4 separate regions of the Homo sapiens genome follow, and regions 1, 2 and 4 are each linked to region 3. The links are contacts of gene promoters, found by promoter capture Hi-C in human tissues and cell types (Jung and others, 2019). All regions are on one chromosome and are shown on one strand. The core of a region is centred on a gene start or on the middle of the fragment in contact, and the rest is flanking DNA. Distances in the headings are between cores, read along the strand shown.

Region 1 (2,700 bases), core at 22-2,521, 170 kb after region 3:
CACTGCCCTCTCTGCCTGGGCAACACCAAGAGTGCTTATATTCCCATCCAGGCGGAGTGCCCGCTGAGGCAGCTGCCCTCGCGGCAAGCTCCGGGGGCATCTTAACCCCTTCCCAGCCTTAGACAACCAGTTGGCTGCAGCCAAAAATGAAAGCATTGGCTCACAGGCTGGTATTCATCTTCCACTCCTACCTAGGATGATAATGAGGTGGAAGGACTCAACCTGTAAACAGCTGAAACACTGAAGGTGACACCACCATCAACCTGGTAGAAGAAAACAGCCCTGGCCTTAGAGTCAGGAGGCCTCGCTGCAAGTTGGAAATACAATGGTGACAATAACAGCAGCAGCCACCTCCATTTTGGGAGCCACCTCTCTGATGTAATGCTACTACTTTTTTGAGGTTCATAATCCTCTCCCCATTATAAAGATGAAGAAGCTAAGTCCAGGAAGAATTAAACCCCTAGTGCAAGAGCACACTGGAAGCAATAGAACCAAGATTGAGCTCAGATCTCTCTGCCTCCAAAATGTATGCCTTTAACCATGACACCACTTTGCTTATTAGTCAAATGGCCTTGAGCCAGGTACTTCCTCTCTGTTCTTCAATGTTTCTACCATAAAATGAAGAGTCGAACTCCATGATCCCTGAAGTCTCTTCCAGAAATGATCCCAGCTCAGAAGCTAAAAAGAAAAGGACTCTGAACAAGCCAAAGGCTTCATCCTGTGTGTCCAGCAGTGCCAGCTGTGCCCATGATTGACGGAGGCCTTGGAACCAGGCGCCTAGTGTCCAGTCCGGTGAAGCGCTGGAAGGCGAGAGGGGGAAGGGCTGGAAGGCGGGAAGGGGAGAGATATCTCCCCGCACTGTGACCCACACCCCCTCTTACTGGCCCGTGGTGGCGTCATGAGGAGGATGAATGGCTGTTCAGTTAAAGTACCTAGGCCTTGTGATTCTTGATGTCTCTACCTCAACAACTTAGACTGAAGTCTTTTTCCTTGGTTGTTTCTTCATTTCTGACCTGTTTGTGTCCCACCTTTCCCACTAGCCCTGAGGGCTACCAGTGATGTTTTCTCCATAATCAGCAATGAATGTCAGCCTTGTCCCCTTTCATGTTTCTCCTCAGTGGGAGAAACAGGCGCTCCCACTAGCTACATGGGGCCATTTACATTTGAATTAATTAGGATTAAAAATCCATCTGGGCACAGTGGCTCACACCTATAATCCCAGCACTTTGGGAAGTCGAGGTGGGTGGATCACCTGAGGTCAGGAGTTTGAGACCAGCCTGGCCAACATGGCAAAACCCCATCTCTACTAACAATACAAAAATTAGCTGGGTGTGGTGGCACACACATGTAATCCCAGCTATTTGGGAGGCTGAGGCACGAGAATCTCTTGAACCCGGGAGGCAGAGGTTGCAGTGAGCCGAGATTGTGCCACTGCACTCCAGCCTGTGCGACAGAGTAAGACTCTGCCTCAAAAAAAAAAAAAAAAAAAAAAAATTCAGGGCCTCAGTGATGCTTGTAACATTTCAGTTGTTCATTGCCACATGTGGCTCATGGCAATTGTATTGGGCAGAGCAGATAGAGAACCCTTCCATCACGACATAAAAGTTCTAGAGCGCAGCACTGGGGGCTGGCTTCTGCCAGTTCAAGAGCCCTTGAGACAGGGGATTTTCTGACTGGGCAGAGGGATGAAAGATGAGTAAAAATCTTTGTCCTCAAAGGCCCATCTCAGATACTAATTTTGGAGGTGGAAGCTTAGAGAGACACTGAGGTGAGCTCCAACAAGCCTGCAATCTCCCCCAGATGGCAGGCAGTCCAAATGCTAAGCTGAGTCCATCCATGGAGAAAGGAAAAAGTCAGAAGCAAAGTTGGGGCACAGGATTCCTGCTGCCACCTCAAGCTATTACATCCTCCTCAATTGCAAAGGCAGGGACAGACAGGTTCCTTACCTGGGCAGGAGGTGTGTCCACTCTGGATGGGTGACTTTGTTCCAGGGTGCACCCAGCTGGTTGACTTTTCCTCATCACTGCAGAAAGATCAATAAGAAAGTGTCAGCTACAAGAGAGGCTTTTCTGAGCAGGACACTCATCTCCAGATTCACATTAACACCGACTATTCAATCCCAGACACATGAGATGAGAGCATCCACAAGGCTGTTCATTCATTCACATTCACAGAGAATTATTTACTAAGCACACTCTGAGGATTTCAGGATGAATAATATCGAATCCCTAACCTCAAAGAATCTACATCCCACTGGGAAACAAATGCATAAAAAGATAGCTGCAATACAATATGATAGGCACTGTAATCCCTATTGTAACTATGTGTAGAAAGTGTGATACCATCGCAAAGAAACAAGGGCTACCTGGCATGAGGTTAAGGAAGGGGAAGCATGAAGGCTTCACGGCAGAGGCAATGTTAGAGATGATTGCTAAAGTCAGGTGGGAAAAACAAGGAAGGTCCTTAACTGGCAGCTTCTCGAATGGATAAGAAAAGGAGGAGACTGCATGAACCCATAGTCCTTATGTGTCAACAATGCTACATATTTTTCATTCACGACATTCCCTCACACTGGAAATTTTACAGATTATGAATCGAGGTTCAGAGAAGTTAAGAAATTTGGCCAAAGTCACAACCTAGATCTGTCCCTAGATTCAGACCTAGATTCAGACCTAGATCTGTCCCCGACAAAACTCTTTC
Region 2 (2,700 bases), core at 30-2,529, 200 kb after region 3:
ATAGTCAATAACAATGTATTATATTCTTGCAAATTGGCCAGGTGAGGTGGCTCACACCTGTAATCTCAACACTTTGGGAGGCAGGAGGAACACTTAAGCCTAGGACTTCAAGACCAGCCTGGGCAATATAGGGAGATCTCGCCCCTACAGATAACTTAAAAATTAGCCTGTTGTGGTGGTGTGAGCCTGTGGTCCCAGCTACTCGGGAAACTGAGGCAAGAGGATTGCCTGAGCCCAGGAGGTTGAGGCTGAAGAAAGCCATGATCATGCCACTGCACTCCAGCTTGGCAACAGAGCAAGGTTCTGTCTCAAAATAAATAAATACATAAATAAATAATAAAATAAAATAAAATAAATAAATAAAAAGCCCAGGCGTGATGGCTCACGCCTGTAATCCCAGCACTTTGGAAGGCCAAGGCAGGCAGATCACCTGAGCTCAGGAGTACGAGACCACCCTGGGCAACATGGGGTGAAACCTGTCTCTACTAAAATACAAAAAATTAGCCGGGTGTGGTGGCACGCGCCTGTAGTCCCAGCTACTTGGGAGGCTGAGACATGAGAATTGCTTGAGCCCAGGACGCGGAGGTTACAGTGAGGCGAAATTGCACCACTGCACTCCAGCTTGTCTCAAATAAATAAATAAATAGAAAAAGGAAATTGCTAAGAGTAGATTTTAAGGGTTCTTACCACAAAAAAAATGCTAAGTATGTGAGGTAATACATGTTAATTAGCTTGACTTACCATTCCACAATGTACACATATTTCAAAACATCATGTTGTAGACAGTAAACATATACAATTTTTGTCAATTTAAAAAACAGAAAAGTTTAAAAAACAATGTCCTCAACCATCTTAGAAAACTGGATATGAATGGTATCCTGCATAATGAAGTGCCTTTCATAACGATGACAATGTTTCAGCGAACCTTAGGCTACCACTGGAAAGAGTAGTCATGACGACCTTACATCAACTGATTTAAAACTTTGGGTTTCAGGTCATCACTAATAATGCTAGCTTTTCAAAAAAAAAAAAATCAAATACTACAAATACAAAATAATGTAAACATTGAAGATAGACCTTTTCACATACAAAATTGCTTCTTTGAAATGAATTCATAAATTACTTGTTATGTCGGGAGGGAGCCTGTGTGTTGGAAAAAAGAGGCTATGGAAATTACCACTTGAGTTAAAGAAAAGTGTATCATGTGTCTAAAATACTCTGGTCACTGCGCAGACCCTTCCACCACAGAGGAAGAAAGGAAAGAGCAAATCACAATTAAAATTCAATGTGACTTGAACAGTGATAAAAAAGTATACAAGGGCCAAGTGAGGTGGCTCATGCCTGTAATCGCGACACTTTGGGAGCCCCAGGCAGTAGGATCTCTTGAAGCCAGGAGTTTGAGACCAGCCTAGGCAATATAATTAGACCCCATCTCTACACACAAAAATAATAAAATTAGCCAGGCAATGTGGTGCATGCCTGTGGTCCTAGCTACTTGGGAGGCTGAGGTGGGAGGATTGTTTAAGCCCAAAAGTTGGAGGCTGCAGTGAGCTATGACCGTGCCACTGTACTCCAGCCTAGGCCTGGGCGACAGCAAGACTCAAAAAAAAAATCAGTTCCTTTGTTTGTGTTCAAATACAAATCTTGGTTCTCCTATAAGAAAGAGCCCCTACTTCTGGGTAATTACCACAAAAAGGTGGAGTCACACTGGGCCAGGCAGGCCTGGAATGGGCAGGGCAGGGCAGTTTTCCAGCTTGTTTACACATTGAGGGACCCACCTCCAGGGGAGCAATAGCAACCAGATCTGTAATAACAGGTGTCCATCAGGCACTCCCAGATGGAAGATAACGCCATCTGGTGGAGACAACAGAGCATCACTAGAAACCCAAAGCCAATCTTCTGCCAAAGAGCTAAAACCCCTGGTGTGGTGGCAAGAATACTCTGGTACTCCAATGCAGCCTATTAATTCTGGGAAAGGAGGGTCTCAGTTGATTTGCTCGCATATTAAATTCATAAATTAACAATGTGTCTTATATTAATAATGACACTAGAATTAATGGATGTGGTATACCTAGCCAAATTGAAATTTGTAATTACTTTCTACAAATTTAGTTAAAGCTTACGGTAGCTTTTCTCTAAGGACATTTAAATTCTGTGATTCTACATCATCTGATGATTGTGGCACACTTGTTTCTGGTCAGACAAGGCTGTGTGGATGAAACTTCAATAAAGCTGATAAGAGAGGTGACTTTGGGAAAGCTATTAACTTGGCCAGGCCCAGTGGCTCACACATGTAATCCCAGCACTTTGGGAGGCCAAGGCAGGAGGACTGCTTGAGGCCAGGAGTTGCTATATGGGCAACATAGCCAGACCCCATCTCTATTTATATATATTAAAAAAAAGAGTCCAGGCGTGGTGGCTCACGCCTATAATCCCAGCATTTTGGGAGGCCAAGGCAGGCAGCTCATGAGCCCAAGAGTTCGAGACCAGCCTGGGCAACATGGTGAAACCCCATCTCTACAAAAAAATTAAAGTTAGCTGGGTGTGATGGCATCTGCCTGTAGTCCCAGCTACTTAGGAGGCTAAGGCAGGAGAATCGCTGGAGCCTGGGAGGCGGAGGTTCAGCACCAAGATTGCACCATTGCACTCCAGTCTGGGTGATGGGAGTGGAACCCTGTCTCAAAAAAAAAAAAAAAAGTT
Region 3 (2,700 bases), core at 139-2,638:
GCGCCATGGGACAACTCTGCCTGACCCCAGCACACACACACACACCCCCCACACCACACACATACACCACACACACCACACATGCACACACACACCACACACATATATACGCACACACCCATACACATATACACGCATACACCCATACACACACATCATACACACACACATACACCACACACACCACACACATACACCCATACACACACATACACATATGCCACACACACCACACACGCATACACACCACACACATATACACACATACACCTATACACACACATCATGCACACACACCACACACGCACACACACCACACACACATATACACACATACACCCATACACACAACATACACACACACATACACACATCCATACATACACATCATACACACACATACACCACACATACCACACATGCACACACACCACACAGATATATACCCATACACCCGTACACATACACTACACACCACAGATGCACACACACGCCACACACATATACACACATACACCCATACACGTACATCATACACACACATACACCACATACACCACACATGCGCACACACATCACACACATATACACACATACACCCATACACACATATCACACACACACACACACACACACACACACACACACACAGATTCCACTGCCCAGCCCATCGGGGCACTTAACATATATGGTAGAAATGAATTATTTGGAAAGGGGCCATGAGTGGCCGACCTGCTGTAGACAATTTTTGTGGTTCCCTCCACCCTGGGGGGTTTGTATCCAGTGAGTGACAGAAATTCCAGGCATGGTTGGAAAGCTTCTGGAGTGAAGTGGCCCCTAGTTCTTAGTGGGTAGGTAGATGCCCTTGGTTAGGCTTGTATTTGCCATCTGTAATTTGGGGGGAGCTGCTCAGAGGAGCCCCATTGCTCTCAAGAGCCCCGAGCGGTTCCCTAGGTCCATCCAAGCGTGTCTGTGGTCTCTAATTCCAGCCACAGCATTTATTTATTGCATGTATTCCTTCCACAGCAAGAGAGAGCCCTCGGGATCCCCAGAGTGTTAGCTTCACAAATAAAGTGCGACTCAGTGTATTCGCCCAGGCATCCCAGGATAATCTGGCCAGGCTGGTAAACAGGAAAGATCAGTGTCTCCCTCCCCTGCCTTTGCCTGCCTGGATGCATCTGTCCGTCTTAGAACGGATTCCCTGCTCCCCTCCAGAGCATCCCCAGGTCAGGGCAGACCCCCTTCCCAGGGGTGGACACTGCAGTGTGCCTACCTTGCCTCAGTCCTGGCCTGGGCAGGAGTCTGGCGGAGCCTCTGAGGTGACGAGACCACCTGGCTGGGTGAATGTCCAGAGGGTGGGCAGCTGGGCTCCCGGTCTCAAGAGTTCTCCCCAGCTCCCTGATCACATCCCTTTTATAAAGCCCGGGGTGACGTCTCCAAGCACAGGCCCACTCTGCCGCCCCTCCCTCCTCCTCAGACCCTCCTGAAGAGCATGGCACCTTGGGAGGCCTCTGCCTCCGGGCTCTGTGACTGGAGGCAGCCTCTCCTCCTGCCCCACCCGAGCCCTCCGAGGCGGGACTTTCTCCTTCTTACCGGCTCTTTCCATCCTCCACACCCTCTTCCCACCCAGAGGACCCATCCTGCCCCCAAACAACGTGGAAATGGGCTATCTGAGGAGGGTGGGGAGAAGTGTCAGTGTGAAATGTCTTGTTTCCTCTCCGAAGAGCCACAGACACACCTAGTCTGAATTAGACGTAGAAAACGACAGGAAGAGGGGAGGAGAAGGGCACAGGCTGACCCAGGGGCTCCTCACATCCCATGCTCCCAGCTCTGAGGGAAAGCCAGGTCAGCGTGGGTCTCCAGGCGGCTCCTAGACTGCGCCCTGTGACTGGCACAGGGTGGTGGTGGCAGAGATTCTCTCCTTTTTCCTTCCTTCCTGCTTCCCTTCTTTCCTCGGTCACTGAGCGCTTCCTCAGCGCAGGGTTTTGAGGTGAATAGGCTATGGACTGGTCAGAGACCTTAGGTAAGCAACCAGCTATGAGCAAGGAGGACGAAATGGGAGCTGCAGAAGGTGGATGCACCTGGGAAGTGCCAGGGGTGCAGAGAGGGGACTTCCAGGTGGCAGCACATCCAGACAGCCTGCTTGGGGGCCCCACCTTCTTGTCTCGTGGCACCCACCACCATACTATTTTGTGACTGCTCAGGTACAGCACTTTGAGGACAGGGACAGGCCCCCTTCCCCCTGTACCCTTGGCACCCACTCCATTGCTGGGCACATACAGAGAGGGCCCTCAATAGATATTTGCTAACTGCATGCATCGCAAGTGACTTTTGTCTCTTTCTTGAGCCTGCAATAACTCTCTATACCCTTGGACAAGGGGCTCTCCAGGGCAGAGACTGTTTCTTCTATCAGGCTGGGAGTCTCTGAAGGCAGGGGCTATGTCTCTACCCTCAGACAGGACGCTCTCCCAGCACAAGCTCAACCTGGTCGTCCCCTAATGCTGGAGAAGCATGCCGGCAGTCTGCAGGTTAGCACCCCTCACTTGTCTGATGCTTACTGTTAACAGGGGATTGCAAACATATTATTATCACACCCATTAGGGCTGTTAAACACCAGGACAGAAATGATAGCCTATGAGGACAGCACTGACCCTCATAGACCAAAACTTCGCTGTGGGGATGATGTGTACGTTGGCCTGT
Region 4 (2,700 bases), core at 34-2,533, 140 kb after region 3:
TATGCTTCGGTCCAGGTGCCTGGAAAAGCTCCCCTGTGGTGAACATGCTTCTGGGCAAGGGATGAAGGCAGACAGCATAGCTAACCCTCCATCACAGCGGGAGAGCCAAGGGTGGCAGGGAGAGGCAACAAGATGAGTGGGACGCAAAGCCTTTGTATCCTGCTCAGTCAAACCTCAAATCTTTGTCCTAAGAGAGGGAGTCAAAGACTCTGACCCTCCACACAACTTTCCTAATTACCTATGACATACATTTGTGCTCCTCATAAGATCACCACGGAGGATGGTTCTGGGGCTATCATTCCAAACTTGGTCTTTTTCTATTTGATAAATAATGATTGCATCTATTTATGGGGTAAAATGCGATGGTTTGATACATGTATACATTGTGAAATGATCAAACTAGGCTAATTAATATATCTACCACTTCACATATTTATCATTTCTTTGTGGTGAGAACATTTAAAACCTACTCTTGACAGGGCGCAGTGGGTGGTTCATGCCTGTCATCCCAGCACTTTGGGAGGTCAGGGTGGGTGGATCACTTGAGGTCAGGAATTCGAAATCAGTCTGGCCAACATGGTGAAACCGCATCTCTACTGAAAATACAAAAATTAGCCGGGCGCGGTAGTGCACACCTATAATCCCAGTTACTTGGGAAGATAAGGCACAAGAATAGCTTGAACTCAGGAGGTGGAGGTTACATGAGCCAAGATTGCACTACTGCACTCCAGCCTGGGTGACAGAACAAGGCTCTGTCTAAAAAATAAAATAAAATAAAATAAAACCTACTCTTTTAGCAATTTAAAAATATAATTTATTATTATATTATTATTAACTATAGTCACCATGCTGTGTAATAGATCACCAGAATTTATTCCCCTTGTCTAACTGAAACTTTGTACCCTTTGACCAATGTCTCTTCCTTCCCCATCCACACCCCATCTCCTAGTTTCCACTAAAGGACTTGATCTGGATGAGATCACCTATCCAAGAAACAGACAGCGGCACTTTCCCACTGGATGCTTTCCTTCCCCTTGGCCTCCCAAGGGTTAACCTGCAGATAACAAACCCCTGCCCCCACCACTTCCCCCCACACACATACACAATCTCTCCCATTCCCCACCAATCCAGGAAAGCAGAATGGCTCAGGCAGCTGGGCAGGGGGGTGTTTAGCTTGGCCTCAGCCCAGCACTGCAGACAACTCCTCTCAACATATAGACAGCCAGGCTGGCTCCCTTGGACCAAGTCCCTCCCTTCCTTCCCCAGCAGAGAAAGGCCCTGGAGAAGGCCCCTCCTGGAGTAGGGGACAGGGAGGGAGGCTGCACTTCAGGGCTAGAGAAGAGTCTGAAGGGGATCCCATCTCTCAAAGGCATCTTTACGCCGCAGTGGCCGCTGCACCTCTCCCTGCTCTTTGCCAGAGCAACTGGGTTAAGGCAAGAAGACATTGAGGGAACACCATGCAGCCCCCAGCTCCAGGACTGGCAGTGCCAGGGAGATGATGCCAGTTTTGACAAGCAGAGACAAAGGTGACCTTGGGAGAAAGCAGACAGACAAGGAGTCATGTCATTCCCTCCCCTTTTCTGTCTGGGCAGTAAATGCTGAGCCCCGGGGGAGTGAAAGGGCCAGCTGCTCTGAGCTGGGCTGTGGAGGATGACAGTGTCCATGTGGCATGGGCAGGGCACATCTGTACCTGTCTTTGGACCCAGACCCCATAGCTTTGGCTCTGCCACAGCCCCTGTCACCTCATCTCAATAACTTTGATAGCCAGCAAATAATTCTGCCATGTCACCTTTAAGAGAAGCCTCTAAAGTGTTCCAGGGCACATGCCCCTACATAAGGGGGTGGCCCAATGTAAACTTCTCTAGTGTCAAGAAGGGCTTTGTAAGGGTCCTGTACCTAATTCCATCTGGTCTTCTTCTGTCTCCAGTCACCAACTCTACCCTAAGACACAGGTCCCCAACCACACCCACTGAGCCCCCAAAACAGCTCTCAGTGCGGCATCCTAAACCCTCATCACCAACCAATCTTCCCTGTCCATGACACTGCCTTCAGACTGCAGATTAAACTGGTCCAGCAACCCACCTGCACCAAGTCATCCCCAGTCCTGTTGCCCTTGAGATGACAGGGTGCCTCTACCTCTGGTCTGGTCTCCCTGCTCCCCGCAAGTGACAATCCAATCATGCCCTGGCTCACAAACCTGCAGTGCTTCTCTACTGTCTGCAGGATGGAGGCTTGAAATGCAAGGTCTTTTACAATCCAGCCCCAACTTATTTATCCAATACGATCTTCTGCTACCACTGTACAACTGAAAGCATAGATTTGCTGTGAGTGATACAAGTCACTGGTGCCACAGGAATTCAGCGGAAGGAGAGGTTAGTTCTAGCTGAGGCCATCAGGGCAGACCTCCTGAAAGAGGTGTGTGAGCGTGTGTGTGTGTGTGTGTGTGTGTGCACGCACATACATACACTGGGGAAAATACTTAGATCATGCACTAGGCCAACTTGCATACTGCCCAGCTTGCATTCTGCCCTCCTCCTCCCTGCCTTACCCTCCCATGGGCTTGTAAGCACAAAAGACATATATTTGCAAATTCACATGGATGCAGGAAATGCTTTTCCTTACTTGAAGATTTGTCAAACTCCAGGCATCCAGGTCAATGACTGGAACAGAATCACAAAAGCTAGCAACTGCCTGTGACAA

The links. The method cuts DNA at HindIII sites, captures the fragments that hold promoters and counts their contacts. A contact is called where the count stands out against the background at its distance.
Region 1: a contact is called between a fragment that was not itself captured here and the fragment with the promoter of KISS1 in region 3, in 1 of the 25 tissues and cell types used here (IMR-90 fibroblasts).
Region 2: a contact is called between a fragment that was not itself captured here and the fragment with the promoter of KISS1 in region 3, in 7 of the 25 tissues and cell types used here (H1 embryonic stem cells, IMR-90 fibroblasts, aorta and 4 more).
Region 4: a contact is called between a fragment that was not itself captured here and the fragment with the promoter of KISS1 in region 3, in 1 of the 25 tissues and cell types used here (dorsolateral prefrontal cortex).

What each region holds. Positions count from the first base shown.
Region 1 is chr1:204,369,584-204,372,283 of GRCh38, forward strand. LINC00628 (long intergenic non-protein coding RNA 628) reads right to left here and starts at 136. Exons shown (of 1, transcript NR_027022.1): 1 at 1-136. It also overlaps a transcript of PLEKHA6 not described here. The HindIII fragment of the contact is 5,024 bases long and covers 1-2,700 here.
Region 2 is chr1:204,396,877-204,399,576 of GRCh38, forward strand. It overlaps a transcript of PPP1R15B not described here. Among named protein-coding and RNA genes, the nearest start is that of PPP1R15B, 14 kb to the right of the region's middle. The HindIII fragment of the contact is 6,586 bases long and covers 1-2,700 here.
Region 3 is chr1:204,195,103-204,197,802 of GRCh38, forward strand. It overlaps KISS1 (KiSS-1 metastasis suppressor), which reads right to left and starts at 1,389. Exons shown (of 3, transcript NM_002256.4): 1 at 1,274-1,389. The HindIII fragment of the contact is 9,045 bases long and covers 1-2,700 here.
Region 4 is chr1:204,334,139-204,336,838 of GRCh38, forward strand. All of the region lies in intron 1 of PLEKHA6 (pleckstrin homology domain containing A6), which reads right to left. Among named protein-coding and RNA genes, the nearest start is that of PLEKHA6, 24 kb to the right of the region's middle. RefSeq lists an enhancer at 2,405-2,700. The HindIII fragment of the contact is 6,420 bases long and covers 1-2,700 here.